4 separate regions of the Homo sapiens genome follow, and regions 2, 3 and 4 are each linked to region 1. The links are contacts of gene promoters, found by promoter capture Hi-C in blood cells and fetal thymus (Javierre and others, 2016). All regions are on one chromosome and are shown on one strand. Each heading gives the region's core, a stretch centred on a gene start or on the middle of the fragment in contact. The rest is flanking DNA. Distances are from core to core; before and after follow the strand shown. Region 1 holds the start of IFTAP (intraflagellar transport associated protein). Region 2 overlaps PRR5L (proline rich 5 like). Region 3 overlaps LOC107984326 (a long non-coding RNA gene). Region 4 overlaps LOC107984326 (a long non-coding RNA gene).

Region 1 (3,600 bases), core at 1,101-3,600:
TACGAGAAGCCACAATTCCTACAGCAACCTTAAAATGAAACCAAGAGGCGACAATAAAAACATTGCTTTAAAACAACTGTTCTTGAAAAATCCCTTTGGATCTGGAATCCATTACCACTGTATGGCTTGCCTTGTATCTCAATAACAGTCATCACAGGTGTTTGAAACAAGCAGGCCTTGGCTTTGGTGTTCCCCCCACCCAAAATGGGACAACTCTCTGATCATAATCACTCAGGCTGAGTGTAATCACCTACAGTTTTCTGAAGTGAGGGTCAATAATGTCTCCTTTTAGTTTCTATGAATAGCATTTTTCATAGTTGCTCAGATGCCTTCCCTCATGTAGGCTTGGGTAGGCCATGATATAAATAAAACACTGCCTAGATTATTTTATAAGCAGGGCAGTTTGCTGAATATACAACTGAGGGAGACAGGCTTGTTTTCATAACTTTGATAATAATCCTTCTGAGACACCATTTCCTCACCTGCTTTAATAACCCACCAGATAATTGTTGAAAGATCACCCCCTTACGAGTCTCCCAAGTAGACTGAAAATAATAACTACAAGAGATTATTTAGCAGTAAATTACAGCTGATCTACAGAAGTTCTTTAAAGCAAAAAAAAAAAAAAACAAAAAAAAAACACTACCATCTCATTAGAGTGACCAGAGATTCTAAATAGTCCAAGGAATCTTTGCAGGAGGAATAAAGATAAATTAGATAAATTATAGTATCAATTAACATTTATTGAGTGTTTATGTGCCAGGCACTGTTCTATGTGATTTACACGTGCTATCCCATTTATTTCTCAAAACAGCCCAGTGAATATATACCAAGATTATCCCCAGTTAGACAAAGGGTGACAAGAAGAATAAAATATTAACTATCTTCTGTTAATAAATTAACTACTACCAGCACCCTCATCATATATGTTTATCCAATTCTTTTAGTTCAAATGTTTATCTGTCTATACCCACTGACCTGATTCCCATATCCTAAAGCCCCTTCTCATCCTCTCCAACCTTATCAACTGCCATTACTGGCAGGTGCGTATGCACTAGACCTTATTTTTGGTAAATTTTAAAATAATCATAACTATCGTCTACTATATGCAAATCCCTGTTCTAAGTACTTTACGTATATTCAACTATTAATCATAACTGACATCAATATATGAGGTTGGTAAAATTATTATCTCAGTTTTCAGATGAGGAAACTGAGGCACACAGAGGTTACATAACTTGCCCAAAGTCATGTAGTTAGTGGCAGAGCCAGGATTTGAATCCAGCCAGTAAGCATTCAGAGTCCACACTCAGCCATTGTTTATACTGCTTTTGAAGCATATTAAGAATTAACTCTTAAAAGTCAAGAAATCTGTGCTATGTTTTGTTTCCTTTAACATTTGGTGCACAGGACATCACACTGCAAACACGGAGTGTATTCCACAACTCTCTAAGGTAAACAATAATAAAATAGAAATTTATCAAGCTTCCTTCATCTAGTAAATATTCTTTTTGTTGTAACACAAGTATGAAATTCTGAATAATTCAAACACTTCTATGCTTAGTCCCTGCTTACTTACTACAGAATTATTAAAGAATTACCCAAAAGTTCTTGGACTGGAAAGATGTGAAAAAGCCACTAACTCTATTTTCCTAGAATGAAGATGAAAAGAAGATGTGTTTAGGAACCTTCTCTGCTTCCCTAAAAGAACCCTAAAAACAGGAGTAAAAACAGTGAAGAAAACAAAGGACCTTCAAAGTGCACTCGTTAAAACCTAATAACTGTATTTCTATTACTAAATGTAGAAGTGGTAAACATCTTTAACAGGCAATGTCTCCCCTGCACTCTAGGGATTCAAAGATCCATCTTTCGGTTCTGTAAGACAGTCACGGCTTTTGTAACCTCGGTGCCCCCTTCAACCTCCCGCCCCAAGCACCTCCAGGGTCGTCAGGGGTGTAGTTTTGAGTCGCGCTCCTAAGCATCCAGACAGGCAGGACACCGTAACGACATCTCTGCCGGGAGTCCCTTCAGACTGCGGTCTCCAGGTAACCGCACTCCAACAGAAGCAGTTGTGCTTCCTATCGGGTCACCTGTTCAAAAGTCCCCAGGAGAGGCTCCAGCAATACCAGGGTAGCGGTTTGCCCGACACCGCTCCGGGCGCTGCAGCCTTCCGGCAACCCGGACGTTGGGTCGGTGTCAGCCACTCTCACCTCCCATTCCCTAGTTTTCCTCCTTTGCTCCCGTCTAGTCACTTCGCACCTTCGGCTAGTCTTTATTCACAGACACATTCCAGGAGTCCCCTCTCCCAGAGCAACAAAGACAGATTTCCAAAGCTACACATCCCAGAGAGAACGGATTCTTGGGAAATGTGGTTCTTTCAGCTGACGCATGGTGACTCTTTACGGAAAAGGACTACAATTCCCAGAAATCCTAGGGAGCATATAGTCCGTGGCTAAAACATGTCCCAGCTCCTTGGATGGAATGGCAGTAAAGGTTCTGTGGCTCTTTACTGACCTAACTCCTTGGATTTTCCTCATTCAGTCCCACTGCAAGCGTGTGGGAGGACTTAAAAAAATGCTATTCACATGTGAAGGAATCTAAATACGATGATTATATGAAGCGATCTCTAAGTCATTTTATTTTATAATTCTTTCAGACAAAAATCTACGTACCATCAGAAACTATGTCTCTGCAGATGGTAACAGTCAGTAATAACATAGCCTTAATTCAGCCAGGCTTCTCACTGATGAATTTTGATGGACAAGTTTTCTTCTTTGGACAAAAAGGCTGGCCCAAAAGATCCTGCCCCACTGGAGTTTTCCATCTGGATGTAAAGCATAACCATGTCAAACTGAAGCCTACAATTTTCTCTAAGGATTCCTGCTACCTCCCTCCTCTTCGCTACCCAGCCACTTGCACATTCAAAGGCAGCTTGGAGTCTGAAAAGCATCAATACATCATCCATGGAGGGAAAACACCAAACAATGAGGTTTCAGATAAGATTTATGTCATGTCTATTGTTTGCAAGAACAACAAAAAGGTTACTTTTCGCTGCACAGAGAAAGACTTGGTAGGAGATGTTCCTGAAGCCAGATATGGTCATTCCATTAATGTGGTGTACAGCCGAGGGAAAAGTATGGGTGTTCTCTTTGGAGGACGCTCATACATGCCTTCTACCCACAGAACCACAGAAAAATGGAATAGTGTAGCTGACTGCCTGCCCTGTGTTTTCCTGGTGGATTTTGAATTTGGGTGTGCTACATCATACATTCTTCCAGAACTTCAGGATGGGCTATCTTTTCATGTCTCTATTGCCAAAAATGACACCATCTATATTTTAGGAGGACATTCACTTGCCAATAATATCCGGCCTGCCAACCTGTACAGAATAAGGGTTGATCTTCCCCTGGGTAGCCCAGCTGTGAATTGCACAGTCTTGCCAGGAGGAATCTCTGTCTCCAGTGCAATCCTGACTCAAACTAACAATGATGAATTTGTTATTGTTGGTGGCTATCAGCTTGAAAATCAAAAAAGAATGATCTGCAACATCATCTCTTTAGAGGACAACAAGATAGAAATTCGTGAGATGGAGACCCCAGA
Region 2 (3,600 bases), core at 694-3,193, 250 kb after region 1:
CAAAACAGGTGGTACAATATAGCCATAGAATGGAACATTATGTTTGCCTTAAAAATGATGTCAATAACTTTTAATAATATCAAGAAATATTTATAACATGTTAAGGAAGCAAAACACAAAACTGTAAATACAGTGCAATCTCAACTAAATGTGCATGGAAATAGGTCTGGAAGTAATACACCAAGACTTAACATGATTTTCTGTGAGTAGTGGAATTAGACTATTTCATACATTTATATATTTTCTGATTTTTCTATGAGCATGTGATTTTTTTTTTTTGAGACAGAGTTTTGCGCTTGTTGCCCAGGCTGGAGTGTGCAGTGGCACAATCTTGGCTCACTGCAACCTCTGCCTCCCAGGTTCAAGTGATTCTCCTACCTCAGCCTCCTGAGTAGCTGGGATAACAGGCACATGCCACCACACCTGGCTAATTTTTGTATTTTTAGTAGAGACGGGATTTCTCCATGTTGGCCAGGCTGGTCCCGAACTCCTGACTTCAGGTGATCCACCCGCCTCGGCCTCCCAAAGTGCTCGAATTACAGGCGTGAGCCACCGCACCCCACCAAGCATGTGATATTTTAAAAAAAAAAAAACAACATAAAACTTATTTCTACATTGTAAAAAGAGCATGGGCTTTAGAACCAAATGCCCTAGATCTATATTCTGACTGTGTCCTTGGATAGGTGACTTAAGCTTTCCAGACCTGTTTCCTCAACAGTAAGTGGAGGTAATAATAGCATTTACATCACGGCGTCATTGCGAGAATCACATACCTTATGTACGTATACTTAGTTTCTTTTTGGTAAGTGATGGAAACCACTATAAAGGCTGATGGGTGAAAGTTAGCTGCTCTTCTACCACCTGAGAGCAAATCTCAGACCAAATCTTCCACACTACCAACATCTGCTCAACTTTTAGAGTGAGCAGAAATAATGTGGTTCCTACAGCCTTTACTGCGTGCTCAGTGAAGTCTTTGTTCACTGTCTTTTTAGCTGTTCAGGCCAACCTCCACCTTGCATGAAAGGGTCCCCAAGGTAAGTGAAACCATATTTCAGAGGCAAGGTTGTGAGACCTTTACAGACAGCCTCAGGCAACAAAGAAATCCTCTAAGTAGCTAGATGGAGGAACTTACAAAGGTCAAGGCGTCTTATATACTTTTCACACAGGGTAGACACTAACAATACTTTTTGTCTAATCTGCAAATCTTGCATATCACTCACTGAGAGTACATGTACTCCCTTACAGATGTTGAACTAGAATTTGTCTCTCTTTTCTGTTTTTTTAACATTTGAAACAATTCTGAATGCATTTCTGATCAACATGGAATTCTGATACAAATCACACAAGCCAGTCACATCTTGGTCCTGAAGGAATCATTCTGGGGTCTTTGCCCAGCTGCCTTTGAGATCGTCAGCCCTTCATGCTAAATTGTGAATCCCCATAAGCTGCCAATCACTTTAAGAATCGCTTTTGCAAAACCATGATCTCCTCGAAACATCAAATTGTTCTTGCCTTTCAATTTAACAATTCACTTATTGAAGTCTGTTCTAAAGCAGTTCTATCCAGTGCCCAGCATGCAGTCCCTGGTGCATCACCAGTATTTTTTTAAATGCCTGCAGGTTTTAAGGAGAGACTATGAGAAAAAAACAATGTGCCAAAGTGACACATGAATTAATTTTTTCCCATTTCTTTCTAAAGTGCGGCTATATTTAAAGGGAGAAGAAGACTGGATTGTAAAGGGTCTCTGGTCAGAACACTGAGAGGAAAGAGTCAGCCCTGACCCTGAAGTTCCTAGGACCAGAAAGGGTGCCCCATCCCACCCGTTTCCAAGTCTCGCTGAACCTCAAGGGATCCTAGAAGGAGGCCTGCTTGGGTGTTCTGAGAGTTCTCCATTCAGGGTGGTTTTATCAGAGAAATTGAACCAGAAAGTACTCTGCTCAGATAACAGGATTAATTAACATTCTTCTCATTCTTCAAACAACTGATCAGTGTGGAATACCACCCATGTCTTACTGGAGGTAGACCTGGCACACATAGAGCTGCCTGAGACTCTCCTGGGATTTCTCGAAGTCATTTCTTTCTCCTGAACCCTAGGCTTCCCTAGGGATAATGTATAATAATAACACTCCCCTTTGTTCTTATGGGGCATATTTCGCCCCCGTCTGCCCTACTGATCTCCAGCTTTATATTTCCAGGTTAGTGTTGATAGACCAAAGCCAGCCTACATAATAAAGATAATGGTGATAATAATACGGTTTATAGAAACTTCTCTACAGACTGGTACTAGGCTAAGCACTTGGTGTTCACCAATTCACCCTTAGTTGAGCCTTCATGGAGTGCGGAGTAGGACATGGGGAGTGCCTCAGCTCCCTCTGCCGACCCACCTTGAGTCTGCTGTATCCTCCCAAAAAGATCTGCCTCCATCAAGACGTTCAGAAACAATGGCTACTTTGCTGAAGACGTTATGCAGAGACGGGCTTGTAGATGGAATCACAGCGTGGACCAAACAGTAGGTACTTTGAAACATTTCCATTAGCTGTCCAATGTCCACCCAACATTTCTTTCCGCTTCCAGTTGTCTCTTCGTTTCTCCTGTTCTCTTCCCCACCTTTGCCTCTTTAATTCCCTTGGATATTCCAGAGCCATTAAGCACTGGCTCTCACCTTGCAAAGCCCACCTGACATCTCAGCTTCTGGAAAACCAGGTAAACACCACAGAGCCCAACGACTTGACCTCAAGCTCTTGTCTTGTGAGGAGGGGGTTCTTAGCAAATTCTGGCCACTATTATTATCTGATATAACCCTTACAACATTTATGAGAGGCAAGAGCTCTGTACTGTTATTGTTCCCATTTTGTGCAGCAAGAAACAAGCTCATGGTCACTTGGCCAGATTCAGAATTGGGAGCTCCAGAGCTGTGGGTGGTCTTAATGGCTCTGCTTACTGTGACGGCATGTCCCATTGAGCTCCAGATAGTTCCAATTGAAGCCTGTGTTCTTCACTCTCAAAGCACTCTGGTCTGGAATCCTATGATCATCTTAACTATGTATGCTAGAGGCTTGTCCATTGTTACATCCACAGCACCTGGCATATCGAAGTACCCAGTGAATATCTTCAGCTCTCAGGTTGGTCTTTGGACAGCCGTCACCCCCTTGAACCAGCCATATTCCCTTTGCCTCTGAATTATAGAAGCTTTCAAATGAAATTCTGACTTGAGCCAAGCGTATAGAGGGCTCACTTTCCCATGGCTGCCAGGCAAGTAACCCTGCCCCCAAATTAATCTCTCTCTGTGTGACAGGCTCCATTTATCATGTTGTGGACTCTGCAGCACAGGGAGGCTCAGGAAGGATGGGCGACCACCGTGGATATTGGCATAAAGGCCAGTATGCTTACTTAGTCCAGCACCATGTTTCATATCTGCCTCTCCATCTGCCTGCCTTTCCCGGAGAGAATCTGGGATGGAGATGGATTACATTTGTTTATGGGCTTATGTTTCAAATGAGAGTTGGACGGAGGCTTAATAGAATTAATTAATTCCCTCTGTTCCATGAGAGATAGAAGAAAGCTCTCTCTACCACAGCTGGCTCTGAGATGGCCCCAGAG
Region 3 (3,600 bases), core at 394-2,893, 160 kb before region 1:
TTGTGCTCTCAAAACAGTCCCTTCCCTCTTAGTCTCCATACAAGGATAAGCCCTCCTTTCTCTGCTGTGACAACAGCTAAACCCTGCTTTTCATGTTGGCAGAGTAGCAGGTGTCTTCTTGGTGAAAAGCGGACTTCAGGAATTCTCTACACCTGGACATCTCCCTTGCTCTGGTTCCTGATAGATTCCTTTTGACTTTAATTCTTTGAGAGAACAGCTTTGCCAATGCTTTTCAATGAAAATTTCATCCAACTTTAAAATATAAAATATATAAAACATGTTGCCTCTGTGGCTGAAGTAGAGGCAGGCACCCCATTCTCAGCCACCACTGGGTACTGCCATCCTCACCTTATTCACCCTGCCACACACACACACACACACACACACACACACACACGCAGAGTCATCCCTCCTAAAATCCCTAGATTAACCACCTCATGCTGGTTTGCCCAGGGCTTTCCAGGATTTAGCACTGTGTGTTCTATACTCTGGAAAACACCAGTTCCACGTACACTGGGATGGTCAGTCTCCCACACAACCCTAAACACACTTCCATAATGGTTTGAAAATCACTGATTTAGAAACAATGCATTGACTCATCAATACAGGGCACATGTTTAGTTACTATTGGTTATTGCAGATTAGTATAAATTAGTTTATCAACTAACTTTCCAAGTGGAGGCAGGTGGAAAAGGGGATTTGATGAAGAGAAAGAAGAGCTTGGCCACTTCATGGCATGCCTTGTTGGCGCTCTCATCAGAGTCAAATTCATTCACAAGGTTCTAGCCCCCAGGACCCTGCAGGGATGCACTAGCTGAACACCTCTGTAATTTAAGTGGTACCTGGATCCATGCCTGCCTCAACAGGAAGAAATGTGAGAAGGCTGGAACAAGATGCTCCCAATTCCTATACCCACTCCTTCCCTAAGCAGTGTGTTCTCTCCTCATATTAGGAAACAGGTAATCAGGGTTGCAGAGCAGACTGAAACTAAAGCCCATGCAGAGAGCAAACTTCAGACCTTGACTTCATTAGAATAGCGCTCTAACCAAACTAAGCAGCCTCAGAGAAGCCTGCATAATTGACTTGGAAACACGTTCAGGCACAGGAGTCTCTCACAGCAGCTGGAATCAAGGCCCAAACCAGAGAACAAGTGCCCAGAAGAGAAAGGGACTGTTCAAAGATACCCAGATGATCCCCTGTCTTGGCAAAGTTGTCCAGGTGCTCATGCAGCTTTAATGAAGCCCAATTCTAATTAATCTGTGACCTTATTCAAACCAACTGTTTCCTCGTGCCTCGAATGCCTCTCCAGATTCAGATGCCCTTTCCCTCAAGTGGAACGCAAAGGCCTGTTTTCTTAATAAGTTTAATTGAAAGATGGCTGAACCATGGGTCTCTCATAAACAGGGAATTCCCCACCAATAGGAGTTGCAGAACAGAGAGGTGTCAAAGATGTGGCAGAGACATAATTCAGCTTCTACAACCAACATTGATGAAAGGCTGGCTTCAGCCTGTCTCTTCCGTCAACAGCCCATCAGACACTTGGCAAATCAAAAGCAGCACGTTGTGTTTAGAATGGACACACTCGTGGAGGCAGCAAGGAGACTGTGGAGAGATGGATTGAGACCATGAAGGCAGGTAAGAGAGGTGCAGTCCAAAGAAGGGAGCAGCAGTGAAAGGGTTAAAATCTACCTGCTGCCCTCTAAACCAGAGTATCAGGGCATCTTTTGTGCTACAAAGGGCTTCCAGGTGTCCCAGATGTTGAGCCCCTTACTTAGGCTCTGAGCAATCTTCTTCATTTCCCCAATATGCTATAGGATTGTAATCATCATTATGTGTGCTATGTTAAATGATGTTAAAAGTGTTGGGAAGCACTGATATAAAGCATTACTTCTCTGTCTCTGATTCCTGCCTCCTAAAAACTGCATCTGTTCTTCTTTTCTATCAGAACAAATACCCGCATCAACCAAAACTAACCAATGGGGTATAGAAAACGCGGGCAGCACTGAGGCCTCACCATCCCTGTAAGATATTCTGAGTGGATTTGAATGTATGTCACTCTCCCCAAAATCTTCTAATCCAAACACTTACATGGCTTCCTGTTTTCCTTAGGATAAAGATCAAAGTCCTTACCAGGGTTTGGAGGGCTGCCCAGAGTCTGACTTCTTGTGGCAGCAAGGAGCCTTAGTTACTCACAAAGGAGCCCACTCTACCTGGACTCAGCAACGTGTCTCATCCTTCACTTCATTTGATCCTCTCATACTCCGTCAAAAAGATTATTTCCTTCCCGTTGCACCAAGTTGCTAGTCCAGCCTGTGTGAGCACCTAGCTCTGGGATCCATCCAGCTAGAAGGAAGAGGATATATAGGATGCTGTCGTTGGCATTTTCCAGATGCTACTCTGACAGGGATGGAACTGTGCAACCTCTTTGTGAAGAAGCATTGGCCTTGCCTGTCAAAAGCAGCATTTGCCATATAGTCGCTCAGGGTCTGTGTCACAGGATCCTTAGGTCAGGAACTTTCCTCTAACTGTTGGCTGGGGAAAGGGTTACCTCGCTGCAAAATTGAGAAATGGATATTTGTCTCTTTTGTTGTCTTTTTCCTCTACTTCCTCTCCTGATGCCTGTTTGTGCCTTTTCCCAGTCCCAGACACCTGATCATCATTCTCAGTAAACTATTGCAAGGACAAAAAACCAAACACCGCATGTTCTCACTCATAGGTGGGAATTGAACAATGAGAACACATGGACACAGGAAGGGGAACATCACACTCTGGGGTCTGGTGTGGGGTGGGGGGAGGGGGGAGGGATAGCATTAGGAGATATACCTAATGTAAGTGATGAGTTAATGGGTGCAGCACACCAGCATGGCACATGTATACGTATGTAACTAACCTGCACATTGTGCCCATGTACCCTAAAACTTAAAGTATAATAATAATAAAATAAAATAAATAAAAAAATAAGATAAAATAAATCCAATTCCCAAGAAGCTGTGTGCTTAGGGAGTTCTCAAAAGCATCATGGCTGAGTCTCTTAGGTGTCAGCCCTCTCAGGATTATGTAAATATTGTAAGTTTCTCCAAATATTAAAGCTGTTCAAAGTTAAAATAAATAAATGGCTAAGAATAAAAATTTGGGCATGATGCCTGATGAAAAGAAAAACAAATGTTAAGGCATAAAGTCTTGATCAGTGCCTCAAATTAATTTCAAAGATGGGTCTTAACTTCCATGCACATTGCTACATTGTCCACTTCCCTAGAGGGCCCAACACTGAGTGCAGCTATTAGCAAAAGGAGAGAGAGACAATGCTAGGCACATGCCAGGAGTTTAAACACTAAACGGTTATTTAGCAGAGATGGAGACATTTGCAAGCAATGCGTGACAGCAAAAGGAAAGGGCAGGTGAGGCATTTCAGAACAACTGTCCAGAACTACATCGGGCACCAGTGGATTTTGTGAGCAGCTGAGGATTTGAGCTTTGCTGGCTCAGCCTGGCTTAGAGTGCTGGGGCAGAAAAGAAACTGGCTCTAGAGGCCATCCTCCAAGGATCTTGAACGTTTCATTTTTTTAGGGTTTTTCTATCTAGACATTGAAGATACAGTGT
Region 4 (3,600 bases), core at 328-2,827, 140 kb before region 1:
AAGTCCTTGGGGATGTGGCTCCCCAGAGTTATCTGGGGCTAGAGATATAAGAAGAATAGGAAGTACAGAAATGGAGCTGGCTCTGCAGCTAGTACAGCAAAAATGGCTTGAGGTTTACTTACAAACAATCGACATTGGTGCCTTTGAAAGGGAAGTGGAACTAGCTTTGATAGACATGCATTCTTTCACTTATTCATTCAACAAACAGCTATTGAGGATGTAATATACCTGCCAGGTACTGTGCCAATACAGAGGAAGTAACAGTCAACAAGAAAGATTTGATTCCTCATGAAGCTTCGTGGCTTCAAGGGTTTCCTGTTTGTCAGAACCTTAAGGATATCTAAAATGTAAAGCAAACCTTCTTAATTTTCATTCATTCATTTACTCATTGAACACATATTTATCAATGGTGCTGTGCTGGCCTCTGGAAGTCACAATGTTCACTAAGACAAGGCAGTTACAATTCAGTTTAAATGTCATGGGAAGGCAAGTACTGTGTGCCAGTGGAGGCTGTAGGAAGGGCCCTGTGATAGCATAACTTGTCCACAAATTATCTGATACTCCTCTCCATTGAGGGGAAATGTCTATGTCCCCTCCCCTTGAATCTAGGCTGGTTCTGACACTGTGCTTACCAGTAAAATATGACGGAAGTGATGCTTCACCCAGACTGTAAAGAAGTAGCAATATTCTTTCTTAGAATACTTGTTCTAGGGGAAGCTAGCTCCCATGTGAATAGATACATCCTGAGAGTACCATGTTGTGAGGAACCTCAAGCTAGCTTAGAAAAGGATATGGGGAAAGAGAGGCCAAGCAAGCTTTAGCTATTCCAGTCATTCCAGCCAGGTGCCAACATCTGAGTAAAACAGCTATCTTGGATATTTTATGTTGGATTGAAAGTCCTCCATGGATAGCATTTAGTCTGAGACCCAAAGGATGAGAATGATTTTGATATACAAGGACCAAGTGGAGGATTATTCCAGGCAGCGGAGTGGGATTATACAAAGATCCAGAGTTGGCGAAGCTCCTGGAGTGTTCAAGGAGCTGAGAGTAGGTTTTAAAATGGTGGTATAGAGGTGAGCTGGCTACATTATCATCAACCCCCACAGAAAACCAAAAATATATATACAGTACCAAAGTTTTTGCCAGCAACAACCCAGGACTCAAATGTGAAGATGAGATAGATCTTGAGGTCATGGAGAAGTGAAAAACCTCTGAGCAAAGGATGGGAGAATTTACCTACCATCTAGGCTCTGAGGATGCCCTTCCCCACAACCCACATTCTTCCCGGCAACAAGTGTGCAGGTAATTTTACCCAATTCACAGTTCCTACACTGGAAAAAGTGAGATTGAGGTGATCATCCAGCTTTCCCACTATCTTAGGTTGCCTGGCAGGAGACCTGTCCTTGCCTTAACCCATGGGAAGTGATTGCCTGAAGGAAGAAATATCCCTAAGGACAGGCAGAGACAAAGGGAGGAGGAGGGACTAGCATCCTGAGCCCTGGAAAGTCTGCTCTGTAACTTGGCCAAAGGAGATGCCAAATCAGGTAGCTGTTAAGCAGCAGTACCCTGTAGGAGGTACATTTCATAGGTCCATTGGGCATGAACCCCTAGCCAGCCTTCCCACACTGCTGGGATAATTCCTTTGAAATTTAACCCCATCCAGGACAGGCAGTGCTCCACTCATTAACTAGAGTCAAAGCAAACCTGGGCTTAAGGCACAAGGCTTAGAACCAAAAAGGGAGCAGTGATCTAACAGTATTTGCTGAGCAAATATATCCAAAGAAACAAAACAAACCAGAGAAAACTAGAATAAATAATTAATCCTTTATTGCAAAGACATTGTCATACATCCACAAGAAACAAAGCAAACTGGGAACTATGACCTCCCCTAAAAGGACAAAACAAAAGTTCAGTCACTGACCCTAACAAGACAGTGATTCGTGAGCTCTCTGATCAAGAATTCATAATAGCAGTCTTGAGGAAACTTGGTGATCTCCAAGATAACACAGAAAAGCAATTCAGAAATGTATTGAGAAAATTTAACAAAGAGATTGAAATTTTTAAAAAATCAAATGGAAATCTTGGAACTGAGAAATACGTTTTCTGAACTGAAAAACTCATTGGAAGCTCCTAACAGCAGAATGGACAAAGCAGAGGGAAAAAAAATCAGTGAGCTTGAAGACCGGCTATTTGAAAATACACAGAGGAGACAAAAGAAGAAATAATGAAAAGGGATGAAGGCCTCCCACAAAAAATAGAAAATTACCTGAAAAGACCAAATCTAAGAATTATTGGTGTTCAAAAGAAAGCTGAGCAAGAGCAATGGGTAGAAAGCTTATTCAAAGAATAATAGAAAAGTTTCCAAAACTTGAAAAAGATATAAATATCCGAGTATAAGAAGGTCGGAAAACATGAAACAGATTGAACCCAAATAAGACTTTCCCAAGGCATATAAGAATCAGACTCTCAATGGTTACAGACAAAGAAAGGATCCTAAAAGCAGCAAAAGAAAGGAAGTAAATTGGCATATAATGGAGCTCTAAATCATCTGGCAGCAGGTTGCTCAACAGAAACCACGCAGGCTAGGAGAGAGTAGAACAACATTTTCAAAGTGCTCAAAGAAAAAAAAAACTGCCATATGAGAATACTGTACCCAGAAAAATTATCCTTCCATAAGAAGGAGAAAGAAAGTCGTTCCCAAACAAACAAAAGCTGAGAGAATTCACCACTATCAAGGAGGTGAGAGTCAACTAATATGGCTGGAGCATGTAGAGTAAGGGGGCGAGGCAAAAATTAGGTTGGTGAGAAAAACAGGGACCAGATCAGGCAAGGCCTTGTCAGCCATGCTAAGGCATGTAAATTTTGTCCTAATTACAATGGAAAGCTCTTAACCATTTTGAATATAAAAGCAGTATGATCTATATTAAAATCATAAGAGGATCCCTGTTGCAGCTATGCCAGTTTTGTGATGCCAGCTCTGTAGCTTTGTTAAATACTCTATTTTTTGGCAGCTATTATAAAAGGGGTTGAGTTCTTGATTTGATTCTCAGCTTGGTCGCTGTTGGTGTATAGCAGAGCTACTGATTTGTGTACATTAATTTTGTATCCCGAAACTTTGTTGAATTCATTTACTAGTTCTAGGAGCTTTTTGGAGGAGTCTTTAGAGTTTTCTAGGTAAACAATCATGTTATCAGCAAACAGCAACAGTTTGATTTCCTCCTTACTGGTTCGGATGCCCTTTATTTCTTTCTCTTGTCTGATTGCTCTGGCTATGACTTCCAGCACTATGTTGAATAGAAGTGGTGAAAGTGGGCATCCTTGTCTTTCTTGTTCCAGTTCACAGGGGGAATGCTTTCAACTTTTCTGCATTCACTGTAATGTTGTCTGTTGGTTTGTCATAGATGGCTCTTATTACCTTAAGGCATGTCCCTTCTATGTCGATTTTGCTGAGGGTTTTAATCATAAAGGAATGCTGGATTTTGTCAAATGCTTTATCTTCATCTATTGAGATAATCATGTGGGTTTTTTTAAATTCTGTTTATGTAGCGTATCACATTTGTTGACTTGTGGATGTTAAACCATCCCTGTATCCCTAGTATG

Evidence for each region. Contacts are between HindIII fragments. The CHiCAGO score rates a contact against its expected background, and 5 or more counts as called.
Region 2: a fragment that was not itself captured here is called in contact with the fragment with the promoter of IFTAP in region 1 in 1 of 17 cell types (fetal thymus); the score reaches 5.3 in fetal thymus.
Region 3: a contact is called between a fragment that was not itself captured here and the fragment with the promoter of IFTAP in region 1, in 1 of 17 cell types (fetal thymus). The highest score is 7.3, in fetal thymus.
Region 4: a fragment that was not itself captured here is called in contact with the fragment with the promoter of IFTAP in region 1 in 1 of 17 cell types (fetal thymus); the score reaches 5.7 in fetal thymus.

The regions. Positions count from the first base shown.
Region 1 is chr11:36,593,252-36,596,851 of GRCh38, reverse strand. It overlaps IFTAP (intraflagellar transport associated protein), which reads right to left and starts at 2,350. Exons shown (of 6, transcript NM_138787.4): 1 at 2,260-2,350. It overlaps RAG2 (recombination activating 2), which reads left to right. Exons shown (of 2, transcript NM_000536.4): 2 at 2,657-3,600. The coding sequence starts at 2,684. RefSeq lists an enhancer at 2,304-2,443. The HindIII fragment of the contact is 5,310 bases long and covers 1,488-3,600 here.
Region 2 is chr11:36,340,899-36,344,498 of GRCh38, reverse strand. The region is part of intron 1 of PRR5L (proline rich 5 like); the gene reads right to left. Among named protein-coding and RNA genes, the nearest start is that of PRR5L, 46 kb to the right of the region's middle. The HindIII fragment of the contact is 2,496 bases long and covers 696-3,191 here.
Region 3 is chr11:36,752,687-36,756,286 of GRCh38, reverse strand. The region is part of intron 3 of LOC107984326 (a long non-coding RNA gene); the gene reads right to left. Among named protein-coding and RNA genes, the nearest start is that of RAG2, 160 kb to the right of the region's middle. The HindIII fragment of the contact is 6,169 bases long and covers 1-3,600 here.
Region 4 is chr11:36,735,158-36,738,757 of GRCh38, reverse strand. All of the region lies in intron 3 of LOC107984326 (a long non-coding RNA gene), which reads right to left. Among named protein-coding and RNA genes, the nearest start is that of RAG2, 140 kb to the right of the region's middle. The HindIII fragment of the contact is 1,519 bases long and covers 818-2,336 here.